2 separate regions of the Homo sapiens genome follow, and region 1 is linked to region 2. The links are contacts of gene promoters, found by promoter capture Hi-C in blood cells and fetal thymus (Javierre and others, 2016). All regions are on one chromosome and are shown on one strand. The core of a region is centred on a gene start or on the middle of the fragment in contact, and the rest is flanking DNA. Distances in the headings are between cores, read along the strand shown.

Region 1 (5,598 bases), core at 3,008-5,507, 2.2 Mb before region 2:
AAATTGTTTGAAATTCCTTGAGGACAACTTTAAGTGATCTCTGAAACAGACATAAATAGATGGTGTCTCAATGTGTTACCCAGGCAGGTCTCAAACTCCTGGTCTCAAGCAATCCTCCCACCTCAGCCTCCCAAAGTCCTCGGATTACAAGCATGAACCACCATGCCCATCAAACAACTTTTGATCTCTTGATAGTAACAAACTTTGATGCAGGTCCATTAATAGAGGTTTTTTGAGCTATAAGATTCTATGTTCAAATTCAGGCTCTAGCAATAATTAGTTAGGTGACCTTAGCCAAAGGACTTAACTCCCTGAGTCTCAATTTCCTCACTAATAAAATAATTATCCGTAACTACCATTCAGCATTGTTATAAGGTTTAAGAACAGCGGACAATCTGGGCTCAGTAACTTTGCAGAAACTGAAAACGTCAGTAGTCCCAAATTCAAATTTAGAAGTTATTTTCACCGAATAACAACAGCAACAAAAACAAACAGATTATTTGAATCATTTCTATAGATTCAAATGAAGCATTTATAAACTATTCATTAGAATGAGACAAACCCAAGAATAAGGATAAAGACATTTCTATGGTGATCATTTCTGTCAGTTCCTAGTAATCTTCCACTGACCCCTCCCTATTCTTTTCTGCATCAAATTTAAACTTATGGCTGAAAACATCAGAATAATTTTAGGATTACTGCCAGCTATTTTGACTCCTTCTCACCTACACTGTAGGGCAAGCTGGAAAAGTTAAAATGCATGAACGCTTCTTGCTATTTAAAAGTAACACTGGGCCGCTGATAGTTCTTTCCCACCACTGGCCTTTATACGGTCCTTATCCTCCAAACTTCTCTGCACAAGTTTGAAGTGTTTACTAATCCCTCCTTGAAACAGTTTCCCTTCCCTAATTTGTGTGAAACTATACTCTCATGATTTTCAACCCTCTATTGAATCTTCCAATTTTCCTCTGTCATCTTTGCCAATCTAATCCATTTCCAATCTCAGCTATAACCGCTCTTTGGATACAGTGTGTATATCCAGCTCTGGCCTCTCAATCAAGTTCCAATCCCAGGATTCCAACTGGGTATTTTTTTCCTTTTTTATTGTCCCCCAGTTTTGTTAATTGACAAAAAATTATACTTATGGTATACAATGCAAAGTTTAGATACATGTATACTTTGTGAAGTGATTAAATCAAGCTCATTAACATATCTGTCACCTCACATACTTGTCATTTTTGTGGGGAGACCATTTAAGATCCACTCTCCTAGCAATTTTCAAATACACAAAACATTATTCACTGTAGTCACCATGCTATTCAATAGATCTTCAGAACTTATCCATCCTGGCTAACTGAAACCGTACCCTGAGCAACATTTCCCCATTCCCCTCCCACAAGGTCAACTCTATCTCATTGATATCCAAAATCAATTACTTCCAACTGAACTCATCTTTCCTGCATTTTTCCCCCGTTCCTTTTTTGTATCAGTGGTACACCAATAATATGCCCTAAACATACAGCCTAGAAACTTAGATTTTCCCCACCCCTTCCTTGCCTTCCACTTGCTTAACTGGTTGTAAAATCATAATGATTCTTTTTCCAACATTTTCTTTTTCATTCTACCACCACCCTACCCATTATTGATTGCAAAAATCATTACAAAGACCTACTAATTGGTTTCCCAGACTCAGTCTCTTGTTTCTAATGATCTTTCACAGCTATGAGATTAATCTTCCAAGAGTACAACTCTAAATCCTTCATCTCCAAAAATGCCCCACTGCCTATGAAACGAAGACCAAATTCCTTGACCCAGCACTCAAATCCTTCATAATCCGGCCCCAATCACCTTACTAAACTTTTTCACCACTCTGCTAAGTACTTGCAAATCTCCATACATGCCCATGTTTTCCAGTTGGCTTTTTTTCATGCTGTTCCCTATGCCTAGAAAGTCCTCCCCTCCCATCATATCTGAATGTCTAAATCCTTCTAAAGTCAGTGTTCAAGGTTCAGCTCACATGTCTTCCCAACCTCCCCAGCCAAAAATAAAATGAAATAAATCTTCTCTAATCCATCCTAATTAGAAGTAATCTCTTCTCCCTCAGTGCACTCTGAATGTAACTTTCTTAGGTCCCTGTTCAACTTGTAATAAATTTATAATTATCTCTTTAATAGATTATAGACTCTTGGAGAGGACAGACTGTTAACCTCCAGTGCCTTACATTTACAACAAATAGTAACTATTTATGGAAAGAGCAAATGGAATTTTGTAGAGTAAGTCTAACCCCTTTTCCACATGACAGCTCTTCAAATCATTAAATCTTTCAATTATTATCAATAATAATCACTACATTAATTACTAATGAGTAATAATTATAGCTTACATTAATCACTAATAATATAGTAATACAGTAATAGCTACATTAATACTAACAATAATTAGCCACATTACCCCTCTTATAACAATTGCTATGATTACATTCACTCTCTCTGAGGATCTTAATAGATTTCAGTTAACTAAGACCTCTGGGCCTCTTTTATCACCCACCCTAATCCTGTAAAGTTGGTACTTTAGGAATCTAAGAGCAGGACTTTACTTCTACTCCTATTAAAGTTCATCCTGTTACAGCCAGATGTGGTGGCTCACACCTGTAATCCCAGCACTTTGGGAGGCCAAGGCAGGTAGATCACTTGAGGTCAGGAGTTCGAGACCAGCCTGGCCAACATGCTGAAACCCCATCTCTACTAAAAATACAAAATTAGCCGGACATGGTGATGCGCCTGTAATCCATTACTTGGGAGGCTGAGGCGGGAGAGTTGCTTGAACCTGGAAGGCAGAGGTTGCAGTGAGCCAAGACCGCACCACTGCACTCCAGCCTGGGCGACAGAGCGAAACTCTATCTCAAAAAAAACTCCATCTTAAAAAAAAGATCTCAAAAAGAAAAAAGTTCATCCCATTAGTTTCAGTTCCAGTAGCCATCAATCTGCTTTAACCACTGTTTTACAAATCTGATAAACATGGCTCACAGCAAGAATTCTCAACTCCTCAAGACACACATATGTGTTCCAGGCATCCTTCCCTAAGTGTGCGCCCACTGATGCATAAAGTCTACCAAGATTGTCGTTAATATACTTTAACTTTAACCTAGGGCTTCCTTAAAGTCAGCATCTGTGGCAGAGAACAAACCCTTTCAGCTATTAAGACAGAAAGTAAGCTCAGTAAAATTGGAGAATGACATTTTCAAATACCATTACCCAAACTTTGTACCTTTAGTGACCATATCCTTATTTCACTTGAAGTATGCAAGCAACAGCTTTCAAAAGGGGTATCTAATTGAGATAACTTTATATTAAATCTGTACGAAGTCATACAACCTACCTTGTAAGGCCAAAGGAATAGCTTCAATCTGGATCTTGGTGGGTTTTGTCCATCCCAACTGGTCACAAGCTTCACACAACACATCTGTCACACCCTTGGAATTCAGAAAAATATACCTTAGCCAAGAACAGCACACCCCTACCTCCCTCCTACTTAACTGACTGTCAGACCCATCATGTACAACCATTGTATTTGATTTAAAAGGTATTTACTGTGCATCTCAGAGCCTACTCTTTAACTATACCATGAGACAGTAGCTCAAGACTTAACGAACACTTTCTGCTCACCAAGGCCAAGGCCAGGTGCTTTACATGTATCATCTCATTTAATCGTCACAACAATTCTGCGAGGTAAGTACTTATTACTATCCCCAATTTACAGATGTGGAAAGAGAAACACAGAGAGGTAACAACTTGTCCTCAGTAAGAGACTGTGTCAAAATTCAAATCTGGTTGGTTCATCTGACTCCAAAGCTCCAGTTATAAAGAGACCAATTCCATTCCCCATATGTACAACCTCCTGGATGCACATACAAACGTTGCCACACTAAAGTGGCGAATAGGGCAAATAGGGGGTCTCAGGGCCCAGCAGCCCTCCCACCACCCAAACTCAGAGCACGTCCGAAACCCAGCCCTCTGAAATTCTGGGGAAAACCCAAGCTAGGCCCCAAGATGCTTTTGTACACTATCAGAGCGGGATCTAAGGTACCTGGGGTCTCCCTGAGCCTAGCACCAGAGTACATAAAAGAAGCCAGCGTCATCCATTCTCACCAGGTCTTTAAATGTTTTAGTTTCCTCCTCTTCCACAATCGGCTGGGACGCTTCGGTCGGAGAATCGTGTTCCTCGGGTGCCGCCATCTTGTGTGAGGTCTCCGGAAGTGGGTCTGCGGCGCGCGGGATGCTGGGAAATGTAGTTTTAGTTCTCCCCGGACGACGTGCTCTGCGCGCCCCCTGCGGGCTTGCCGGGGATTGCACCCGTCCGCTAGGCAGGTGGGGCCCAGTGAATATGGGCGCGTAGGCTTGCGGAATAGATCCGAGTGCAGAAGGGGCTGATCACCAGGGACTCCAGTTGACCTTTAGGTCCCTTTTAAAGAGCCTTCCCTACGTGTGTCGCCAGTTATGTTCCCCGCTTTTCTAACCATAGAGTTTGGAACGGATTGATATTACAATACTATTTTTTTATTATGTCATTACTTTATTCAATAATGTTGAGAACCTACCATTTGCTAAGGCTATGCTAGATGGCTGGTGAATAGGACAGCGACCCCTGCCCTCGTGAAGAAAAAGAAGACAGATCATAAATAAGCTATCACAGAGCATTTCAAATTGTGAAAAGTAGCTGGGTGTGCTCACGCCTGTAACCCCAGCACTGTGGGAGGACGAGGCGGGCGGATCACTTGAGCCCAGGAGTTCGAGACCAGCCTGGGCAACGTGGCGAAACCCTGTGTCTGCAAAATGCAAAAATCAGTCAGGCATGCATGGTGGCATGCGCCTGTAATCCCAGCTATTCAGGGGGCTGAGGTTGAGGGATCAGTTGACCCCGGAAGTTGAGGCTGCAGTGAGTGGAGATGGTGCTACTGTACTCCAGCCTGGGCAACAGAGTGAAACCCTGTTCACATAAAAATTACAGAGTAACCTGGGGAGGGTGGGTTGTGGGGATAACTGTGAGATTGGGAAGGCCTCTCTGAGACAGTGATATTTGAGTTAAGACCTCACTGTTGAGCAGGAGAAAACGCTTTAAGATCCCAGGAGATAATCATTCCAGAGTGAGAGAATTCCAAGTACCAAGACTGTGAAGCTACTAAGGCTATTCTGGAAAGCAGCAAATTCAGAGCTGTATGTTGCATGCCCCATGGCCAGCGAGTGCCCTCCTGTGGCCTGTCACTTGGGTCTCACACTGCGCAGGGTGCTCGTTGCAGTTTTATTCCTGAGGATGGGAAGTTGGGGGCAATCTGGTGTCCGTCACTGGGAAAATGCATAGTTAAAATGTGAACATGGTGTCTACAAACATGCCCTTAACAATATGATTAGATCTGAAAAACCTAGTGCTTAGTGAGAAAAGCATAAAATATATCAAGTATATTAAAATATAGGCCCACAGATATCACATTCTGCTAAAACACATCCAACAGAAGATACACTTGAAATATTTTAGAATGGTTGCCTGCAGAGGGAGAAGAATTAGAATAAAACTGGGAATTGGGAATAAAAGAATTAAGTG
Region 2 (6,176 bases), core at 3,677-6,176:
TATTAAATTAATATTTATTAAATGGAAATATGCTTTTCTGGTTTATAACTACTAAAAATATCATAGGGAGGATAAAAGTAAATAAGTGAAAGTTAATGCCAATAGAAAAATTCAAGAGATAATGTACAATGTCAGAAAAGGGATTCTTTATGTGTAAATGGGGATAATACCTATTTCACAAGGTTGTTCTGAGGATTGATACGTTTTGAGTATGTATTTGTACACTATCTGGCACATATGCGCTCAATAAACGTGTTTCTCCTTTTCTTTTGCCCTTCCTAACCCAGGACCTTTCATATATTTTTCATTTAAAATCTACTGTGACCAAGAAGAGAAACTCAGTCGCTAACACTGCAAGGCAGGACATGCCTAAAGATGATGATATGGCACAAGTAGTGATATTATACATGTGCAATGATGAAGTCATCATTTTTGTACGCTTTTGGATGATGATAGTGGACTCCTACTATTACAAAATATTGAAAACATCATCATGAGGGCAATTCTGTTGAACATGGTAGTCTGCAATTTTAAAAAACACTTTGGGTACCCTGGAAGGGACATCTAAGGCTGCCATAAGAAAAATGACTGGCAGCTAAAAATGTTGTAGAAGTTGGAATCCTGATGGAATCATAATGAGTCAGCTAAAGGAATAATGATTCTTGCCGCTGTAAGAATACCACAATGACTAGTCAGGATTTAAATGGGTAGCAAGTTGCAGTAGGGAGAAGGGCAGAAGAGTGGCTTCACACAAAATTACAAAGTCCTATGGAATCCCATTGTTGCCTCTCAGCTGTTCAGTTAAGTCAAAATTACAAATATTTACTTATTTATCTGATCACTGAAAAATATTGAGTGTTAAGGCTTGCTGTGCCAGACACTTGGCTAGGTGTAGGATAAAAGAAATAGGGAGCTTTTGATTACAGTCTAGAAGGTGAGACACATTATACATTTATTTGTGTGGGTATCTGTTAAGTGCGAAGTGTTAAGTGCTATAAAGAAAAAGCATAGGGTAGTAGAAGGGAGTTTAAAAGGAACACTTCCCTGAACAGAAATGGGCTATAAACTGAGACCTTAGGGATGGGTAAGTAACCCAGGCCGAATAAGAAGAGTCTCCCAGGAGGAGGACATGTGTGCGTGAAAATTCTGAGGCAAGGAACTGCAAGAAAGCATATGGGTTGCAGCACGGTGAGCTAAGGGAAAGTGGAACACAGTGAAATGGAAGGTTGCTTTGTTGTACTGTCATATTTCTTTTAGTAGGAGGGAAAGAAGCAGACAATTGATATTTAAGTTTTTTACCCCCAATTTTATTTGTTTTTCCGGCCCGGAAAACTGGATACAGTAATTTTTACTCTAAGAAAACTGGGTCTTTCTCTCACTTGGCCAGGCTTCTTCCAGAAGGAGGATGATATTTCTGGCATCATTGACCTTTCAGCCAAACTAGGTGTTTCCAAGCTAATGAATGAAAAAAAGAATCAAAATATTTATCATTTAATCGGGTTGACTCTAGATAGATTTTGTTGTATTGTTTTGATTGCCTTCTCTTCCAGTCTTGTTTTTCCAATCTATGCTTTATTGTTAAAAAAAAATTCCAACACTTAGGAACAACGCAAACACCCACCTAGATACAGTGTCTAAGGGAAACTTGGTAACGTCGTTTAAAATAGAATAGTCTGAACCAGTAGTTCTTAAATTATGCTTATGGAGCACACTATGTTTTTTTATGCCAGATTTAGGTATTCTGTTATTAAAATCAAATAATAGTAGTGGGTTTTTTTTTAGCATTTTAAAACAAAAAAAGTCAGTTAATTAAGATTTCTTAATCTTAACTCTGTTGCAATAATTTTTTTAAATTTTGCTTTAACACTCTTACTGAAATAAATAAGTAGCAAATACAGTGGAAGACTGGAAGATATCCTATTACCCTTAATTTAGCATACTGTGTTTACCCGTTTTGGGGAAAAGAGTTAGAGATTATGCTATGTGTTTGAAGCATATAATATTGTCATTTGCTGGAAAAAAATTTTAGATTGAACAATCGAATTAAATATATCATGTCATGGTAATCTAGAAGTAGCTCCAAGTTCTCGCCATATATGAACATATGTGATAACGAATGGTGTGGAAAGTTTGGTGTTTCTGCATGATCATGATTCTCTTACTTAAAAAGTTAATACCACTAAGTGGTAAAAAGACAGATAAGGCTAACGTCCACAGGGAAGTCTATTATGGAAAAGAGAAGAGCAAGGTGGGTGGATGAATTAAAAATTAAAATACTACCTCATTCTGAGTATTTTTTAAAATTTAAACCACATTATGCACTTATTCTTGACTTACTACTCTGATCCATTTATTAATAACTGAATGAGATAGCCCTGACATCTTTTCTTCTGTAAATACAAAATCAAATGAATCAGACGTTATTCATAAATTAAAAACATGAGACTATAATACCTAGTGCTTATCACAATAAACATGGAACATGTTTCTGAAAATTGGAAGTCAGAATGATTTGATCATTAAGCCCTAATTTCAGATGGAAATAAAACGTTTATTTCTTACCTACTTCACTTTGTGCTTTGAAATTTACCGCTGTGTTAGCAAAGGTGGAAACAGTATTTTGGCTTCACTTAAGCAGCTCAAATATTTATTTTCATAAGTAAACTGTGTTGATATCAGTAAGTACGTCCTAATTTGGAGCCTACAACAAGCAATTTGAAAATGTTCACAATTTTTTTTTTGCTATTTCTAGCCCAACTAAAAGTGTATGAAAAGATTCTAACTGTGCTGACCAACACAGTAGCTTCTAGCCACATGTGTTTATTTAAATGTTAATCTAAATTAATCACAATTAAGAATTCAGTTCGAAGTCACAGTAGTCACATTTCAAGGGCTCAGCAGCCATACAGAAGAACATTTCCACATCACTGTTGTGTACCATCCAAGAATACAACACAACGCAAATGCTTTATCACTTTGTAATTCTTGCTTCAATACAAAAGGTTCAAATTTTGGCTTAAAATATAGAGAGTTAAGTAAATATAGTTTCATATTTTATCTTACAAACAGGTAGGATTATAGTCTTGAACCCCTATGTCATTTTTGGAGATCAAGACAGTAACTGGCCCACTTAACAAAGATGTTAATACTTTGTGCATTCTGTAACCTCTATTTATATAGTTACACATTCTGGTATCCATAGTTCTATTTAGGTAAACATGAAGATGAACATTGGCACATGTGCCAAAAACCTGAAGGAGAGACATTAGGGAATCTAAGATATTGAATGAGGCTTTCCATATAATTCAACAAAATGGATTACAGCTGATATTTCCAGAGATACTACGGAATAGAGTGTTCAAATTTCTGTGAATTATTCTTGTGGTAAGTGTGGTGACCAACCCATCTCAGTTTGCCTGGGTGTTTCCAGGTATGGAAAGTCCCATTTCCCAGGAAACTCCACAGTCCTGGTCAAACTGGAACGGCTAGTCACCCTAGTGGTAAAACATGGTGCTTCCTGTTTCTTACGTACTTTCCAAAATGGTGGCCCATTGTAGGGACTGATTCATTTTTCTATATTAATAGTTATATAACTACTAATATGGACTCAAGGAAACGTGGCCCAATTTGCCTTTTTAGTCATTCTACTTGAACCTTATGCTCTAGCTATACCGAATTTCTTAGTGTTCCCCAAACATGAATTTTCACACCACTGTCTTTGCTCGGGTCATTTTCTGCCTGGAATGCTTTTTCATCCCACTGAACATACACAGAACTTACTTCTCAAGGTCCAATTCAAACACTTCCGTTGACAAGCCTTTTCCAATACTCTTTTTTCAAATTTCCCTACTCTGCAATAGAATGCTCTTGCTTCCTCTGCTGTACTACCGGCATGTTTTACACACTTTTTTTTTTTTAGACGAAGTTTCGCTCTTGTCACCCAGGCTGGAGTGCAACTGCGCGATCTCCGCCTCTCGGGTTCAAGCGATTCTCCTGCCTCAGCCTCCTGAGTAGCTAGGATTACAGGCACGTGCCACCAAACCTGGCTAATTTTTGTATTTTTAGTAAAGACAAGGTTTTGCCATGTTGGCCAGGCTGGTCTTGAACTCCTGACCTCGGGTGATTTGCCCCCTTTGGCCTCCCAAAGTGCTGGGATTACAGGCATGAGCCACTGCGCCCGGCCACATATAGGCTTTCTTTTCTTTTTCTTTTTTTTTTTTTTTTTTTTTTGAGACAGAGTTTCGCTCTTGTTGCCCAGGCTGGAATGCAGTGGCACGATCTCAGCTCACTGAAACCTCTGCCTCCAGGGTTCAAGCAATTCTCCTGCCTCAGCCTCCCGCGTATCTGGTATTACAGGCACGCGCCACCACGCCCAGCTAATTTTTTTGTATTTTTAATAGAGACGGGGTTTCACCATGCTGGCCAGGATGGCACATATATTCTTAATTATAGCAATTGCTCCCTTGTGCTGGTATTCGCCTTACGTGTTTGCTTTCTTTTCTAGACTACCAGATCAAATGGCTTATTTCTAGTTTCAAACTGTCACATAGGAAATGTTTGTTAAAACTAATGTTTTATAAAATTTAAAGCTTATTTTACATATTATCTCATTAGATCTCTCAAGAATTCTGTGAGCTTGGCAATGTAGATTGCTGTATATGCATTAGGCTGATGAACAAACAGGCTTAGAGATAGTCACTTGCCCGAGGTTAGTTAGCTGTTAAGTGTTGGGATTGAATCCCAGGTCTTCTCTCCACCACTTTCTACTAAAAATCACTGAAGGTTGTCAACCGACAGATAGGATTACTCTGTGTGTTGATAACAAAAGGGTGATCAATAATATCTGAAAAGGAAACTTTGTGTAAAAGTCTTTCCCTTACCTTAAAAACTACGCCACACTGGAGCATTCTTTCATTCCCCCAATTTAATTCTATCTGGCGAGAAACAATAATGGGCTAAACCATTATTGTATCGTAAGTCAAATTGCCAAAACTTCACAGGCTACTAAAAGTTAACCCTTATTGAATGAATTAAGAACCTTAGAAGTTCTGCTGTTAAAAAAAGCACGGTGACTGTCAGGGTTTTTCAGGTGTGGGGGGTGTGAGGGTTTTAAGAGTTGGATTCCTTTGACTTTGTCTCTATTATTATAGGCTTAGAGGTCCCGGGTAACTACCAATCGCTATCCAAAGGGAAAGCACCCTGTTAGAAATTAAGTAAGAAAAATAGTTTATATTCCCGGTCTGCCATTTCGATTCTAAGCTTTATCTTTATTTAGCTCACAGTTAAAGGGGGCATAGAGCCACACCCACCTCACAAACGCCGCAAGGATTGGGAGACCAGAAAAGTAAAAGTGACTTGCAAACCTTTAGCTCTAAGTCCATAAAAAAGACTATCATATGCTCACATTTCTAATCTTTGCTAGTATAATGTAATCTTTATTTTGAAAACAATGTGCCTCCATTCCTAGTAAAGCGAAAGTCACGGCGCTGCGACCCTCCCTTCAGCGCCTCCGGACTCTCACGCGATACTCGGCTTTCACGCTTTAGTCTAGGGCTGCACTGCAGGAGGAAGAGAAGCGCCTGTGGTGACGCACTTATTCCGCGCGATGACGTCACTGCAAGGCGCCGGGGGACACGTTGGCTGCGTTTTCGGCGGGCTTCCCGGGTACAAAAATGGCTGTGGCTAGCGATTTCTACCTGCGCTACTACGTAGGGCACAAGGGCAAGTTTGGGCACGAGTTTCTGGAGTTCGAATTTCGGCCGGACGGTGAGAAGAGGCCCACGGCACGCGGTGCTGGGAAAGGGGAGCGAGACCGAGAGGCCGGGTGGTGTGGAGGGTACAGGCGGCGGAGGCCACTGCTTCCCTCGAAGGAAATAGGAGCTTAAGAATAGAGGAGGCATAAGTTGGTTTTATAAATGAAAGAGAATTAATTGCAATAAATTAAAGCTAATCCTGTCACAAACTGAAAAGTTGAACCTACAGTAATCAGAATTCTGTAACAGTGCACCAGAAGGGACTCTAGATCGTCGCCCTGATTGAAAATGCTAGCACTTTTTTGAAAACACCCCCACCAGCGGGTGGTCCAGTGGATGAATAAAATCTTGTGGTGACCAGTACCTTTTTTTCATTTAGGCTGTGTGTTTTCTTTGAAGGGGAGGAGCCCAACGTGTTAACAA

Evidence for each region. The method cuts DNA at HindIII sites, captures the fragments that hold promoters and counts their contacts. A CHiCAGO score of 5 or more calls a contact.
Region 1: the fragment with the promoter of DDX47 here is called in contact with a fragment that was not itself captured in region 2 in 1 of 17 cell types (fetal thymus); the score reaches 5.6 in fetal thymus.

The regions. Positions count from the first base shown.
Region 1 is chr12:12,812,005-12,817,602 of GRCh38, reverse strand. DDX47 (DEAD-box helicase 47) reads right to left here and starts at 4,257. Exons shown (of 12, transcript NM_016355.4): 1 at 4,149-4,257; 2 at 3,379-3,472. The coding sequence starts at 4,235. RefSeq lists an enhancer at 4,121-4,430. The HindIII fragment of the contact is 15,992 bases long and covers 3,450-5,598 here.
Region 2 is chr12:10,613,029-10,619,204 of GRCh38, reverse strand. It overlaps MAGOHB (mago homolog B, exon junction complex subunit), which reads left to right and starts at 5,596. Exons shown (of 5, transcript NM_018048.5): 1 at 5,596-5,766. The coding sequence starts at 5,673. STYK1 (serine/threonine/tyrosine kinase 1) reads left to right here. Exons shown (of 11, transcript NM_018423.3): 11 at 1-282. RefSeq lists enhancers at 4,782-5,659, 5,476-5,875, 5,660-6,176. The HindIII fragment of the contact is 670 bases long and covers 4,592-5,261 here.